2 separate regions of the Homo sapiens genome follow, and region 1 is linked to region 2. The links are contacts of gene promoters, found by promoter capture Hi-C in blood cells and fetal thymus (Javierre and others, 2016). All regions are on one chromosome and are shown on one strand. The core of a region is centred on a gene start or on the middle of the fragment in contact, and the rest is flanking DNA. Distances in the headings are between cores, read along the strand shown.

Evidence for each region. Contacts are between HindIII fragments. The CHiCAGO score rates a contact against its expected background, and 5 or more counts as called.
Region 1: a fragment that was not itself captured here is called in contact with the fragment with the promoter of MYO1F in region 2 in 3 of 17 cell types (non-activated CD4 T cells, neutrophils and monocytes); the score reaches 6.2 in non-activated CD4 T cells.

The regions. Positions count from the first base shown.
Region 1 is chr19:8,633,177-8,639,844 of GRCh38, forward strand. It overlaps NFILZ (NFIL3 like basic leucine zipper), which reads left to right. Exons shown (of 6, transcript NM_001378600.1): 3 at 2,474-2,570. Among named protein-coding and RNA genes, the nearest start is that of NFILZ, 5.9 kb to the left of the region's middle. The HindIII fragment of the contact is 6,295 bases long and covers 164-6,458 here.
Region 2 is chr19:8,574,114-8,580,561 of GRCh38, forward strand. It overlaps MYO1F (myosin IF), which reads right to left and starts at 3,329. Exons shown (of 28, transcript NM_012335.4): 1 at 3,194-3,329. The coding sequence starts at 3,196. It overlaps ADAMTS10 (ADAM metallopeptidase with thrombospondin type 1 motif 10), which reads right to left. Exons shown (of 26, transcript NM_030957.4): 26 at 6,127-6,448. RefSeq lists enhancers at 1,774-1,833, 2,174-2,233, 2,404-2,583 and silencers at 2,704-2,753, 3,291-3,440, 4,661-4,855. The HindIII fragment of the contact is 24,150 bases long and covers 1-6,448 here.

The DNA.
Region 1 (6,668 bases), core at 2,061-4,560, 59 kb after region 2:
TGCCCAGCTAATTTTTTGTATTTTCAGTCGAGACGGGGTTTTACCGTGTTGGCCAGACTGGTCTTGGATTCCTGACCTAAGGCGATGCACCCACCTCGGCCTCCCAAAGTGCTGGGATTATAGGTGGAAGCCAACGCGCCCGGCCTCCTTTACTTCCTTAATAAGCTTGCTTTCACTTTACTCCGTGGACTCTCCCTGAAATCTTTCTTGCGGGGGACCTAAGAACCCTCTTTTGGGGTCTGGATCGGGACCCTTTTCCAGTAAAAGTTGGTGTTATTGGCAGTGAGGTAGGGAAGCTGCGGCTAAGCTGAGGCTGCACAGGGAAGGTGTCTTGACCTTGAACTTGACACCTTGACCTTGGACCCTTGCCTAGGCTCTGAGGGCCAGCTCCTTTCCCTCTCTCTACCTTCCCCCACCTCTGGCTCTTGGAAGTGCACCTGCAGCTGCTGTGGGAGGAGCCCTCCAGCCGCCCTGAGGATGGTTTCCTGCCTCCCTTCCTGCCCCCTCTGAAGACCAACTTAGCTATGCCCAACTCAGCTCTTGTCCTGGGACAAGGCCCCCTGCCTCCTGGTCAAGGGAGCAGGGTCCTGGGGAGGGAGAGACAGATGTCGAGGCTGGACAGGAGGTTGTGGAAGGGGAGGAAGTGGATTTGGGAGTATAGCTTTCTTTCTTACTCAGTTATCATTAGTATAACTTTTCTCCCTTCCTTCCTTCCTTCCTTCCTTCCTTCCTTCCTTCCTTCCTTCCTTCCTTCCTTCCTTCCTTCCTTCCCTCCCTTCTTTCCTTCTCTCTCTCTCTTTTTTGCTTTCTTGCTTGCTTTCTTGTTTCCTTTTTTTTTTGAGATAGAGTCTTGCTCTGTCACCCAGGCTGCAGTACGGTGGCGCCATCTCGGCTCATTGCAACCTCCACCTGCCAGGTTCAAGCGATTCTCCTGCCTCAGCCTCCCAAGTAGCTGGGACTACAGGTGTGTGCTATCATGCCCAGCTGATTTTTGTATCTTTGGTAGAGAAGGGGTTTCACCATGTTGGCCAGGCTGGTCTTGAACCCCTGGCTTCAAGTGATCCACCCCCTTGGTCTCCCAAAGTGTTGGGATTACAGGCGTGAGCCACCCTGCCTGGCCTCTTTTTTTTTTCTTTTTGAGACAGGGTTTCACTCTGTTGCCCAGGCTGGATTGCAGTGGTGCAATCCAGCCTTGAATGTCTGGGCTCAAATGATTCTCCCACATCAGCCTCCTGAGTAGCTGGAACTATCGGCGCATGCCGTGACACCCAGCTAATTTTTATTTTTTGTAGAGATGGGATCTCTCTCAAATTCCTGGCCTCAAGTAATCCTCTTGCCTCAGCCTACCAAAATGCTGGGCCTTATTATTGTAATGTTTTTTCCTTTCATTTAAGTAAAAATTAAAGTGTAATTTACTGGCCAGGTGTGGTGGCACAGGCCTATAGTCCCAGCACTTTGGGAGGCTGAGGCGGGCGGATCGCTTGAGCTCAGGCATTGGAGATCAGTCTGGGCAACACAGTGAGACCTTGTCTCTACAAAAAACAAAACAGAAAATTAGCTGGGCATAGTGGTGTGCATTCGTAGTTCCAGCTAATTGGGAGGCTAAGGTGGGAGGATCACTTGAATCCGGGAAGTCGAGGCTGCATCAAGCCAAGATGGCCCCACTGCACTTTAGCCAAGACCCTATCACAAACAAACAAACAAACAAACAAACAAACAAACAAACAAAAAAACAAAAAAACCAGTGTAATTTACTGACAGTGAAACCCATACATATTAGTATACGATTCTGTGATATTTGACAAACCACACAACCCTATAACCACAACCTCAATAGAAATACAGAATACCGGCCAGGCCTGGTGGCTCACACTTGTAATCCTAGCACTTTGGGAGGCTGAGGCGGGTGGATCACTTGAGGTCAGGAGTTCAAGACCAGCCTGGCCAACATAGTGACTCTCTGTCTCTACTAAAAATACAAAAATTAGCCGGGCATGGTGGTGGGCACCTGTAATCCCAGCTACTCAGGAGGCTGAGGCAGGAGAATCGCTTGAACCTGGGAGGCGGAGGTTGCAGTGAGCCGAGATCATACCACTGCACCTCAGCCTGGGCAACAGAGCAAGACTCCATCTCAAAAAAAAAAAAATTAAAAAAAAAAAAAAAGAAATACAGAATACCTTTTTCCCTCCCAATTCCTGCAATTCCTGCGTGCCCCTCTGGAGTCAATTTCTCTCCCTCAGTCCCAGCCCCTGGCCCCTGCTGACTTCCTCTCTGTTGCTATATTTCTGCCTTTTCCCAGGATATTATGTCAATGGAATCGTACCATAGGCAGCTTTTGGCGCATACTTCTTCCAGGCAGCAGAATGCATTTGAGGCTTATTCACGTTGTTGGGTGTAGCATTTTTTGTTTCTTTTACTGTTGAGGAGTCCCTGGTATGGATGTGTCACCATGCATCCATTCATTTGTTGACAGACACGTGAGTTGTTTCCAGTTTTGGTGACGAATGCCCAAATTCATAGGCGATGATAAATAATGTGCCAGACGTTGATGTGCAAGTTTTGGTGTGAGGGTAAGTTTCCATTTCTCTACGGTGAATACCTATGAGTCCTTATTCTCTCTCTCTGTCTCTGACTTTCTCTTTCTCTCTTTATTTATTTGTTTATTTATTTTTATTTATTAGACAGGGTCTTGCTCTGTCACCCAAACTGGAGTGCAATGGTGCAGTCTTGGCTCATTGCCACCTCTGCCTCCTGGGCTCAAGCTATTTTCCTGTCTCAGCCTCCAGAGTAGCTGGAATTACAGGTGCGCACCACCACACCCAGCTGATTTTTGTATTTTTAGTAGAGAGGGGGTTTCACCGTATTGCCCAGGCTGGTGTTGAACTCCTGGCCTCAAGTGTTCTACCCGGCTCATCCTCCCAAAGTACTGGTATTACAGGCATGAGCCACCACACCCAGCCAAAACCAGCCTTTTAAAAAAATTTTATTTTCGGCTGGGCGCGGTGGCTCATGCCTGTAATCTCAGCACTTTGGGAGGCCGAGGCGGGTGAATCACGGGGTCAGGAGTTCGAGACCAGCCTGACCAACATGGTGAAACCCCGTCTCTACTAAAAATACAAAAATTAACTGGGCATGGTGGCACACGCCTGTAGTCCCAGCTACTTGGGAGGCTGAGGCAGGAGAAATGCTTGAACCTGGGAGGCGGAGGTTGCAGTGAGCCGAGATTGCGCCATTGCACTCCAGCCTGGGCAACACAGCGAGACTCCATCTTTTTTTTTTTTTTTTTGAAACAGAGTCTTGCTCTGTCGCCCAGGCTGGAGTTCAATGGCGCCATCTCGGCTCACCGCAACCTCTGCCTCCTGGGTTCAAGCAATTCTCCTCCCTTAGCCTCCTGAGTAGCTAGGATTACAGGCATGCACCATCATGCCCAGCTATGTTTTTTTTTTTAATTTTTATTTTTAGTAGAGACGGGGTTTCACCATGTTGGTGAGGCTGGCCTTGAACTCCCGACCTCAGGTGATCAGCTTGCCTTGGCCTCCCAAAGTGCTGGGATTACAGGCGTGAGCCACCATGCTTGGCTAATTTTTGTATTTTTAATAGAGGTGAGGTTTCACCCTTTTGCCCAGGCTGGCCTCGAACTCCTGACCACAAGTGATCCGCCCACCTTGGCCTCCCAAAGTTTTGGGATTACAGGCATTAGCCATTGCGCCTGGCCTATATGGAGGCTTTTGTATGGAGAGACAGGACACTGGTCCCCTGGATACTGGAGGGGGACAGTCAGGGATAGAGCTGGGGCCAAGGGGAAGATATAGAAGTGCGAATCAGGTGAGGTATAGGACAGGGTGCCTGGAGGGGAGGCCAGAATCTTCATTCTAACCAAATCCTTGCCTAGTTTTTAAAAAAATGGGCAAGGCTGAATGTGGTGGCTCATACCTGTAGTCCCAGTACTTTAAGAGGCCAAGGCAGAAGGATCACTTGAGCCCAGGAGTTCGAGGCTGCAGTGAGCTAGGACTGTGCACTCCAGCCGGGTGTGATGACGCACACATATAATCTCAGCTCTCAGAAGGCTGAAGCAGGAGAGTCACTTGAATCCAGGAGGCAGAGATTGTAGTGAGCTGAGATCACACCACTGCACTCCAGCCTGGGCAATAGAAAAAAAACCAAAACCAAACCAAAACAAAACCTTAAACACAAAGTTACCATAGAACTCAGCAACTCCTGAGGTCAGGAGTTCGAGACCAGCCTGACCAACATGGTGAAGCCCCTTCTCTACTAAAAATACAAAAATTAGCAGGGAATGGCGGTGCATACTTGTAGTCCCAGCTACTTGGGAGGCTGAGGCAGGAGAATAGCTTGAACTGGGGAGGTGGAGGTTGCAGTGACCCGAGATTGCACCACTGCTCTCCAGCCTAGGCGACAGAGTGAGACTCCATCTCAAAAAAAAAAAAGGCCGAGTGCAGTGGCTCACGCCTGTAATTCCAGCACTTTGGGAGGCTGAGGCATGTGGATCACCTGAGGTCAGGAGTTTGAGACCAGCCTGACCAACATAGTGAAACTCCATCTCTACTAAAATACAAAAAATTAGCCAGGCATGGTGGCAGATGCCTGTAATCTCAGCTACTTGGGAGGCTGAGGCAGGAGAATCACCTGAACCAGGGAGGCGGAGATTGCAGTGAGCTGAGATTGCGCCACTGTACTACAGCCTGGGCGACAAGAGCAAGACTAAAGATGGTCTCAAAAAAAAAAAAAAAAAAAAAAGAAAAGAACAGAAAAAGAAAAACAAAAAGCCTCCACATAGTCCCCTTGCTCTTGTAGAACAGAGAAGGACTTCATAGACCTTTCCCCAACACAGGTTAGTGCCAGCATGACCTTGCCAGGCCACCTTAATAGAGCAAAGATCAGTAGATGCTATGGGAAGTCAAATTTTCTCAACATTAGAAACTCTTTCCAACACACAGAAAAATGGAAAGAATTGGGCACAGGCACACTCACCCCTAGATTCTACAACGAACTCATTGCCATTCCGCGGTAAACGCTAAGCCAGGCGTCACACGCTATGCTGTGTGATGCTAGAAGTGCGCACACTTATCCTGTTGGTGGTGGAATTTACACGTGCGTTCATGAGTGTGCACGTGCGTTAGCCGCTGTGTGCATTTGTGGGCGTGCAAAGGGATGTGCCTGGGGGAAAACCTCACACAGTGGTTAGGAAGCCTGTGCAGTTGAACTGTGGGGGCTCCCGTCTTGCTTCTGCCACTTAAGGACTGTGGGGCCTTGGGCGAATTGCCCAACTTCTCTCCTGCCCGTTTCCTCTTTCAGTGTGGATTCATTCATTCAACAAATATTTACGGAACGAACACCTCCTGCGTGCCAGGCTCCATTCCAAGCACTGGGGGTTGCAGCGGCGAACAAAACAGACCCAAATGCCTGCCCTGGTGGGCCAGGAAGGCAGAAATAAAGATGAAGAGTTGGTCAAGTCTGCAGTATGTCACAGGGTGGTAGGGCTGCGTTTGTGTACATGGGGAAGAGGCTGCAGCTTTAGAGGTGGGGGGACCTCCCGGGGAAGGTGAGGAGAGTGAGGTGCTTCTAGGGGGATGGAGGGGAGGGGAGAGTCTTTCTGGCAGAGGGCAAAGCAAGTGCAAAGGCCCTGAAGCAGGAATTTACTTTGCTGTTTTTTTTTTTTTTTTTGAGATGGAATCTCGCTCTGTTGCCCAGACTGGAGTGCAGTGGCACAATCTTGGATCACCGCAACCTCTGCCTCCCGGGTTCAAGGGATCCTCCTGCCTCAGCCTCCGAGTAGCTGGGATTACAGGCGCACACCACCATGCCCAGCTAATTTTTTGTATTTGTAATAGAGACAGGCTTTCACCACATTGGCCAGGCTGGTCTCAAACTCCTGGCCTCAAGTGATCTGCCCGACTCGGCCTCCCAAAGTGGTGGGATTGCAGGTGTCAGCCACTGAGCCCGGCCTACTTGGCTGTTTAAGGAACAGTGAGGAGGTCCATGTGGTTGGAGCAGAGTGATAGAAGGGGTGAGAGGAAGGAGGGCAAAGGCAGAGAGGTGACAGTGGGTGTTGTGGGGAAGGAGAGCTTGCAAGATCTCAAGAGTTACAGGCATGGCAGGCCAGGCATGGCGGCTCACACCTGTAACCCCAGCACTTTGGGAGGCTGAGGCAGGAGGATCATTTGAGCCTGGAAGTTTGCGACCAGCCTGGGCAACATAGCAAGACCCCTGCCTCTACAAAAACAAAACAAAACAAAACAAAACGCAACAATTAGCCAAGTATGGTGGCATGTGCCTGTAGTCCCAGCTACTCAGGAGGCAGGAAGATCGCTTGAGCCCAGGAGTTTGAGGCTGTAGTGAGCTATGATCGCACCACAGCAATACAGCCTGGGTCACAGAGCCAGACCATCTCTTAAGAAAATTAAAAAAAAAAAAAAAAGATTTGCAGAAAGTACTCAAGCTTTTACCCTGGGATGTGTTGAGGGTGTCCTCTCTGGCTGCTGGGTGGATGATAATAGCACCTACCTGAAGGAGTTGTTGGAAGGACGACATGAATTAATATGTGTAAAGTGATAGGCCAGTGTCTGGCATATACCACACATGGGGTAAGGATTAGTTTATTTTTATATGCGGTAGGCGTGTGTGTGTTGGGTGTCTCTGGGCGGCAG
Region 2 (6,448 bases), core at 2,079-4,578:
CAGAATTTCCAGCTGAAAACAATCCACCACCAACGAACAACATTAAACACCAACCGCCACCACCACCAGCCCACCTGCAAGAGCCATTATCACCACGAACCTGCAACAAGAAACAGCCACAACCACCACCACAACCAATGACACCAACAACCCAGCAATGACCACTCGCAGCAACTCCTCCCCAATTACCACAATCGTCACCTCCGTCCATCCTCATTGCTGAATCCAGAAATGAATGGACATCCCAGCTAATGGCAGCTACCATGGATCAAGTGCATGTTATGTGCTCTGTAAAGCAATGGTCCCCAACATTTTTGGCACCAGAGACCGGTTTAATGGAAGACAATTTTTCCATGGACCATGGAGCGGGGCATTAGATTTTCTTTTCTTTCTTTTCCTTTATTTCTTCTTTTTTCCCTTTCTTTCTTTCTTTCTTTCTTTCTTTCTTTCTTTCTTTCTTTCTTTCTCTCTCTCTCTCTCTCTCTTTCTTTCTTTCTTTCTTTCTTTCTTTCTTTCTTTCTTTCTTTCTTTCCTTTCTTTCTCTTTCTTCTTTCTCTCTTTCTTTCTTTCTTCCTTTCTCTTTCTCTCTTTCTTTCTTTTTCTTTCTCTTTCTTTCTTTCTTTTTCTTTCTTTCTTTCTCTCTCTCTTTCTTTTTTTTTTGAGATGGAGCCTCTCTCTGTGGCCCAGGCTGGAGTGCAGTGGCGTGATCTCGTCTCATTGCGACCTCTGCCTCCTGGGTTCAAGTGATTCTCCTATCTCAGGTTCCCGGGTAGCTGGGGTTACAGGCGCGCACCACCACGACTGGCTAATTTTTGTATTTTTAGTAGAGACAGGGTTTTGCCATGTTGGCCAGGCTGGTCTTGAACTCTTGACCTCAGGTGATCCGCCCACCTCGGCCTCCAAAAGTGTTGAGATTACAGGCATGAGCCACTGCACCCTGCCAACGGCATTAGATTTTCTTTTTCTTTTTTTTTTTTTTTTGAGACGGAGTCTGGCTCTGTCGCCGAGGCTGTAGTGCAATGGTGTGATCTTGGCTCACTGCAACCTCCGCCTCCCGGGTTCAAGCGATTCTCCTGCCTCAGCCTCCCGAGTAGCTAGGATGACAGGCATGTGCCACCACACCCAGCTCATTTTTGTATTTTTAGGAGAGACGGGGTCTCACCACGTTGGCCAGGATCGTTTCTATCTCTTGACTTCGTGATCTGCCCGCCTCGGCCTCCCAAAGTGCTAGGATTACAGGTGTGAGCCACCGCACCCGGCCGGGCATTAGATTGTCATAAGCAGCATGCAACCTGGATCCCTCGTGTGTGCAGTTCACAACAGGGTTTGCGATCCTGTGATAATCTAATGGCGCCCCCGAGAATCTGAGAGGAGGTGGAGCTCGGGCTTGCTTGCCTGCCACTCATCTCCTGCTCTGTGACCCGATAGGGCTCATGGTTTCTAACAGACAGACCATGGCCCGATAGCAGTCCATGACCCCGGGGGTTGGGGACCCTGTTGTAAAGGACTTCAGAAATACTGTTTCATTGAATCCTTCAGCGATCTTCCTGGCATTCACCACTCCTCCAGGAAGATTTCAGCATCCCCAGACAGAGGTGGGTGTCATTTTTTTCTCTTCTATCATCCTCTGCGATACGGGTGGCCCCTCCCAGACCTTGTCTGCCAAGCCGACTGTTGACTAAGCATTTTCAGAGGGCTTCCTTGGGGAGGGGTTGCCTTTCTTTCAAGTAGCAAATCACTTCCTGTGTTCTTTTGATCAAAGCCCTGCCCATCCCAGGACCTGAGCCTCCCTGGCTTGCTTCTCATCTTGGAAGAATTCCCACCCCAACAGTCTCAGAGCTCCAGCTGATGGTTTGGGTGTGAATTCCGGGATGCCCAATTTCTCATCAGCTTTCCTTTTTTGAGACGGAGTGTGCTCTGTCACCCAGGCTGGAGTGCAGCGGCAGGATCTCAGCTCACTGCACCCTCCGCCTCCTGGGTTCAAGTTATTCTCTTGCCTCAGCCTCATATGTAGCTGGGATTACAGGCGTGTGCCACCACGCCCAGTTAATTTTTTGTATTTTTTAGTAGAGACGAGGTTTCACCACGTTGGCCAGGCTGGTCTCGAACACCTGACCTCAAGTGATCTACCTGTCTCAGCCTCCTAAAATGCTGGGATTACAGGCATGAGCCACTGTCCCTGGCCCTCACTGGCTTCCTGAAAGAAGGTGTTGTCTCTCAGACTAACACCACCTCTGCCTCTTGCCCTATGTCCCTGACTCCACCCTAGTAAGCTGTACCTGCCAAGAATCCTGCAGTGGCCGCTGTCACAGCCACATGCTCTCATCCTCACTGACTGAATGACGAGAAATGAAAGCTGAAGTGGTCTACACAGCAGAGAGCTGTGGGGTGGGGTCAGCCCTGGCCACCTCTTACTTTGCGTCTTATGGTGGTACGATACTGCTAGGAATAGCGCCATGATCACGACAGTCTCCCCGTTGCTATCATCGACAGACCTCAGACTTGACAGGCAGCAACACCTCTGGCTGCCATCCTCCTCTTGGGATAAGGGATGCCCACCAAAGGGTGGCATGGACGTATTCAGCCTCTCCTGCCTCTGCTGCAGCCATACCGCCCGTCACCGGCACAGGGAGGGCGTCAATCCACCCCATCGCTTGTTAGACATAGCTTCCCATCTCAGCCGAGGACTCTGTGGCAGAACCCACAGACCTTGAGAATGTTGCAACTGAAAGACCCCTGAAGAGCAACTTCCGCATCTAGACGGATTTCCAAATATGACATCTGTGGGAACCGGGGCCAAGAGAGGGGAAGTGACTAGCCCAAGGCTACACAGGGAGACGAGAGACTGGGCTGGACTGGGAAAGGGCTCCCTTAATTTGCAAGCAAAGGAGGCTATGTCCTTGTCCCTGCAGACTCTGTGATTCTCCCTGGGCCACCTTCTGTCTTCCAGGTCCTGCCCTATCCTTGGATCCAGGGATACCACCCTGGCATCCCCACCACCTACAGATGGGAGCTTGCTCCCTGGTAAGGGATGCTGGAGGCACCTGAGCTGCACTGAGAGACACCCCACCCCCACAGAAGTCCACCATGCCCCTCCCCTCACCCCAATTTCTGATGGTCATTTTTAGGACACCTCCACCTGGCTGGTGTCCCTCCTCTTTCTTCTTCCAGATCCCACCCTTGAAGGACTTACCATGGTGGGGGGCTGGTGTCTGGGCTCCTGGAGGCTCCTGAATGGGTCGTGATGGAGGTGCAGGTTCAGGGGGATCTTGGGGGTGGCTTGGGCATGGCCCTGCTTCTGCCCGTTCACCGGACTCCCGGCTTTAGTTCCTCTTACAACAGCCCCTTCTCACTTCCTTTGGCGGGAGGGGCCGAGGCCATGGGGGAGGGAAGCTGGGTGTGGAGGGGGGCGGGGAGCTGGCTGTTTGGGGCTCTGAGCCTGAAGGGAGGGGTCAGAACTTGATGGCAGCCACTACTGGACCTCAGAGGCCTCTTCCCCAACTCCTTGGGGACAGGGCTGCTGCAGGAACATTTGGGTCAGCTGGCTGCAGGACGAACCACCTCTTTTCAGGGCGATTCAGGAAGCATTTGGGCTTCCCGGGTCTCTTTTTAAAACCAAGGAAGGGGCCCAGGGGAGGTGGCTCACGCCTGTAATCCCAATACTTTGGGGGGCCAAGGTTGGAGGATCGCTTGAGTCCAGGAGTTTGAGACCAGCCTGGGCTATATAGCATGACCCCATCTCTACAAAAAATGAAAAGAAAAAAAATTAGCTGGGCATGGTGGCATGAGCCTGCAGTCCCAGCTACTCAGAGGGCTGAGGTGGGAGGATTGCTTGAACCTGGGAGGTGGAGGCCTCAGTGAGCCCTGATTGCGCCACTGCACTCCAGCCTGGGCGAAAGAGTGAGACCCTGTCTCTAAAAACAAACCAGAAAAAACAAAAAAACCAAAAAAACAACAACAACAGGGAAGGGTGCCTTCTTCAGCTGTGTCTGCTCTGGGCATCCCTGGGCAACCTCCTTCATTATTATTATTGTTATTATTTTGAGACGGAGTCTAGCTCTGTCACCCAGGCTAGAATGCAGTGGTGCAATCTCAGCTTACTTTAATCTCCGCCTCCTGGGTTCAAGCGATTCTCCTGCCTCAGCCTCCTGAGTAGCTGGGATTACAGGTGCCCACCGCCACACCTGGCTAATATTTGTATTTTTAGTAGAGACGGAATTTCGCCATGTTGGCCAGGCCGGCCTTGAACTCCTGACCTCAGGTGATCCTCCCAACTCGGCCTCCCAAAGTGCTGGGATTACAGGCATAAGCCACCACGCCTGGCCCAACCTCCCTCTTTAGATGACCCTCAGAAGTCACACGTGTTTGTGTGCAGAAGTGGAGGGTACTGGGAAGCAGGTGCATCTGAAAGGTCCCTGACTTTGGATGTCACATCTAGATTTAACAGCCTCCAGTTTGGCTACTTCCTGGATGACTTAGTTACTCCCTTTTCTCATTGTAAAATGGGAACGTGGGTCCCCCCAGCAGAGCCTGGCCCAGGTACGTGTCAGCCTATGAGCTGGTCTTTGGGACACCAGCCAACCACCTGAGGCTCCTCTTGACATGTGAGGAAATGGCAGTTCTAATAGGTTGTTACTTCCCCACACCACCCAGCAAGGAGGTGGCCGAGGCAGGACCCGACCCTGGGAGACCCTGGGGGACCCATGTTCAGATCTATCTTTGGTCCAGGGCGATAAACCCGCATCCCCCTTGAAGATGTTAATATGCAGCGCCCCTAGTGGCCACAGCTGGGAAGGAGCCCGTCTCTGCTGGAATCTCCTGAGCGAGTTTGCAGAATTGACGGGCTTGGGGCATGCAATTCTCAGCAATGTCTCCAGGCACTCAAGAGTGAATATGAATGGGTAAGAGGACCCCACTTTGTTGGGGGCCATCAGGGGAGGCTTCTAGGAAGAGGCAACGTTTGTGCTGACACCGGCGAGTAAGCTGGAGTTAAAAAAGGTAAAGGGGCAGGAGCGTGCACCTGGCCATGCTAAGCGCTCAAGCAAAGGCCCAGATATGGGAAAACCATAGGGCAATTGAGGAAGTTCGGGGAGGCTGGTGTGGCTGGAGCATGCGGAGTGACGGAGAGTGTGATGGCCAGGGTGGCAGGTGCTAGACCGTGTGGCTTTAAGAGCCTCTGTGAGGGCCAGGCATGGTGGCTGATGCCTGTAATCCCAGAACTTTGGGAGGCTGAGGTGGGAGGATCGCTTGAGCCCAGGAGTTCCAGACCAGCTTGGGCAACATAGCAAGACCTCGTCTCTACAAAAAATTAAAAAATCAGCTAGGTGTGCTGTTGCACCTATAATCTCAGTTACTTGGCAGGGTAGGCAGGAGAATCGTTTAAGCCCAGGAGTTCAAGGCTGCAGTGAGCTGAGATCGTGCCACTGAACTCCAGCCTGGGCTACAGAGTGAGACCCTGTCTCAAAAAACAAAAACAAAAAAGCAAAACCCTTCCACGAGAAGCTGTTGTACTTTTCTCCTAAAATCCCTGGGTTCCTGTCTGCAATGTTAAAAGTCCCCTTCTGGCTGGGCACGGTGGCCCATGCCTGTAATCCCAGCACTCTGGGAGGCCGAGGCGGGCAGATCACGAGGTCAGGAGATCGAGACCATCCTGGCTAACACGGTGAAACCCCGTCTCTACTAAAAAAGTACAAAAAATTAGCTGGGCATGTTGGCGGGCGCCTGTAGTGCCAGCTACTCGGGAGGCTGAGGCGAGAATGGCATGAACCCAGGAGGCGGAGCTTGCAGTGAGCCGAGATCGTGCCACTGCACTCCAGCCTGGGCAACAGTGCAAGACTCCGTCTCAAAAAAAAAAAAAAATAAAAAAAAAAAATAAATAAATCAGCTGGGTGTGGTCGTGCACGCCTGTAGTCCCAGCTATTCAGAAGGTGGAAGTGGGAGGATCACTTGAGTCCAGGAGATCAAGGCTGCAGTGAGCTATGATAGGCATAGCTGGGCGACAGGGACCGTCTCAGGAAAAAAAAAAAAGAAGTCCCCTTTTGGCTGTTGGGTAGACCTGGGAGAATGGGTGGTCCTTTCCAGACCTGGGTGGGGGCTACTGGATGCACTGACACACACACACCGCAATTCGTAGAAATCTACACAAGACAGAACTTTATTGATGTAGGGCTTCCTGGCAGGAGTGTGTGGGCCCCAGGGCAGGGTCTGTAGCACCATGAGGGGGTGGCCTGGATGTCGGGGTGCCCCTGGGGCGGGCAGGGCAGAGGTTGGGGTGGATCCTCCCCCTAGTCAGGTCAGGGGAGGGTGTCAGGGAGGTGGTGCTACCCCCCCCCCTCCCATAGCAGACACAGATTCCCCCCCAGCTCGGAGTGGAGGGGTAGGGCAGTGCTGGGGGGCAGGGCACCGGCAGACCACCTCCCCACCCCTACTCTTCACAGTACATATTCCG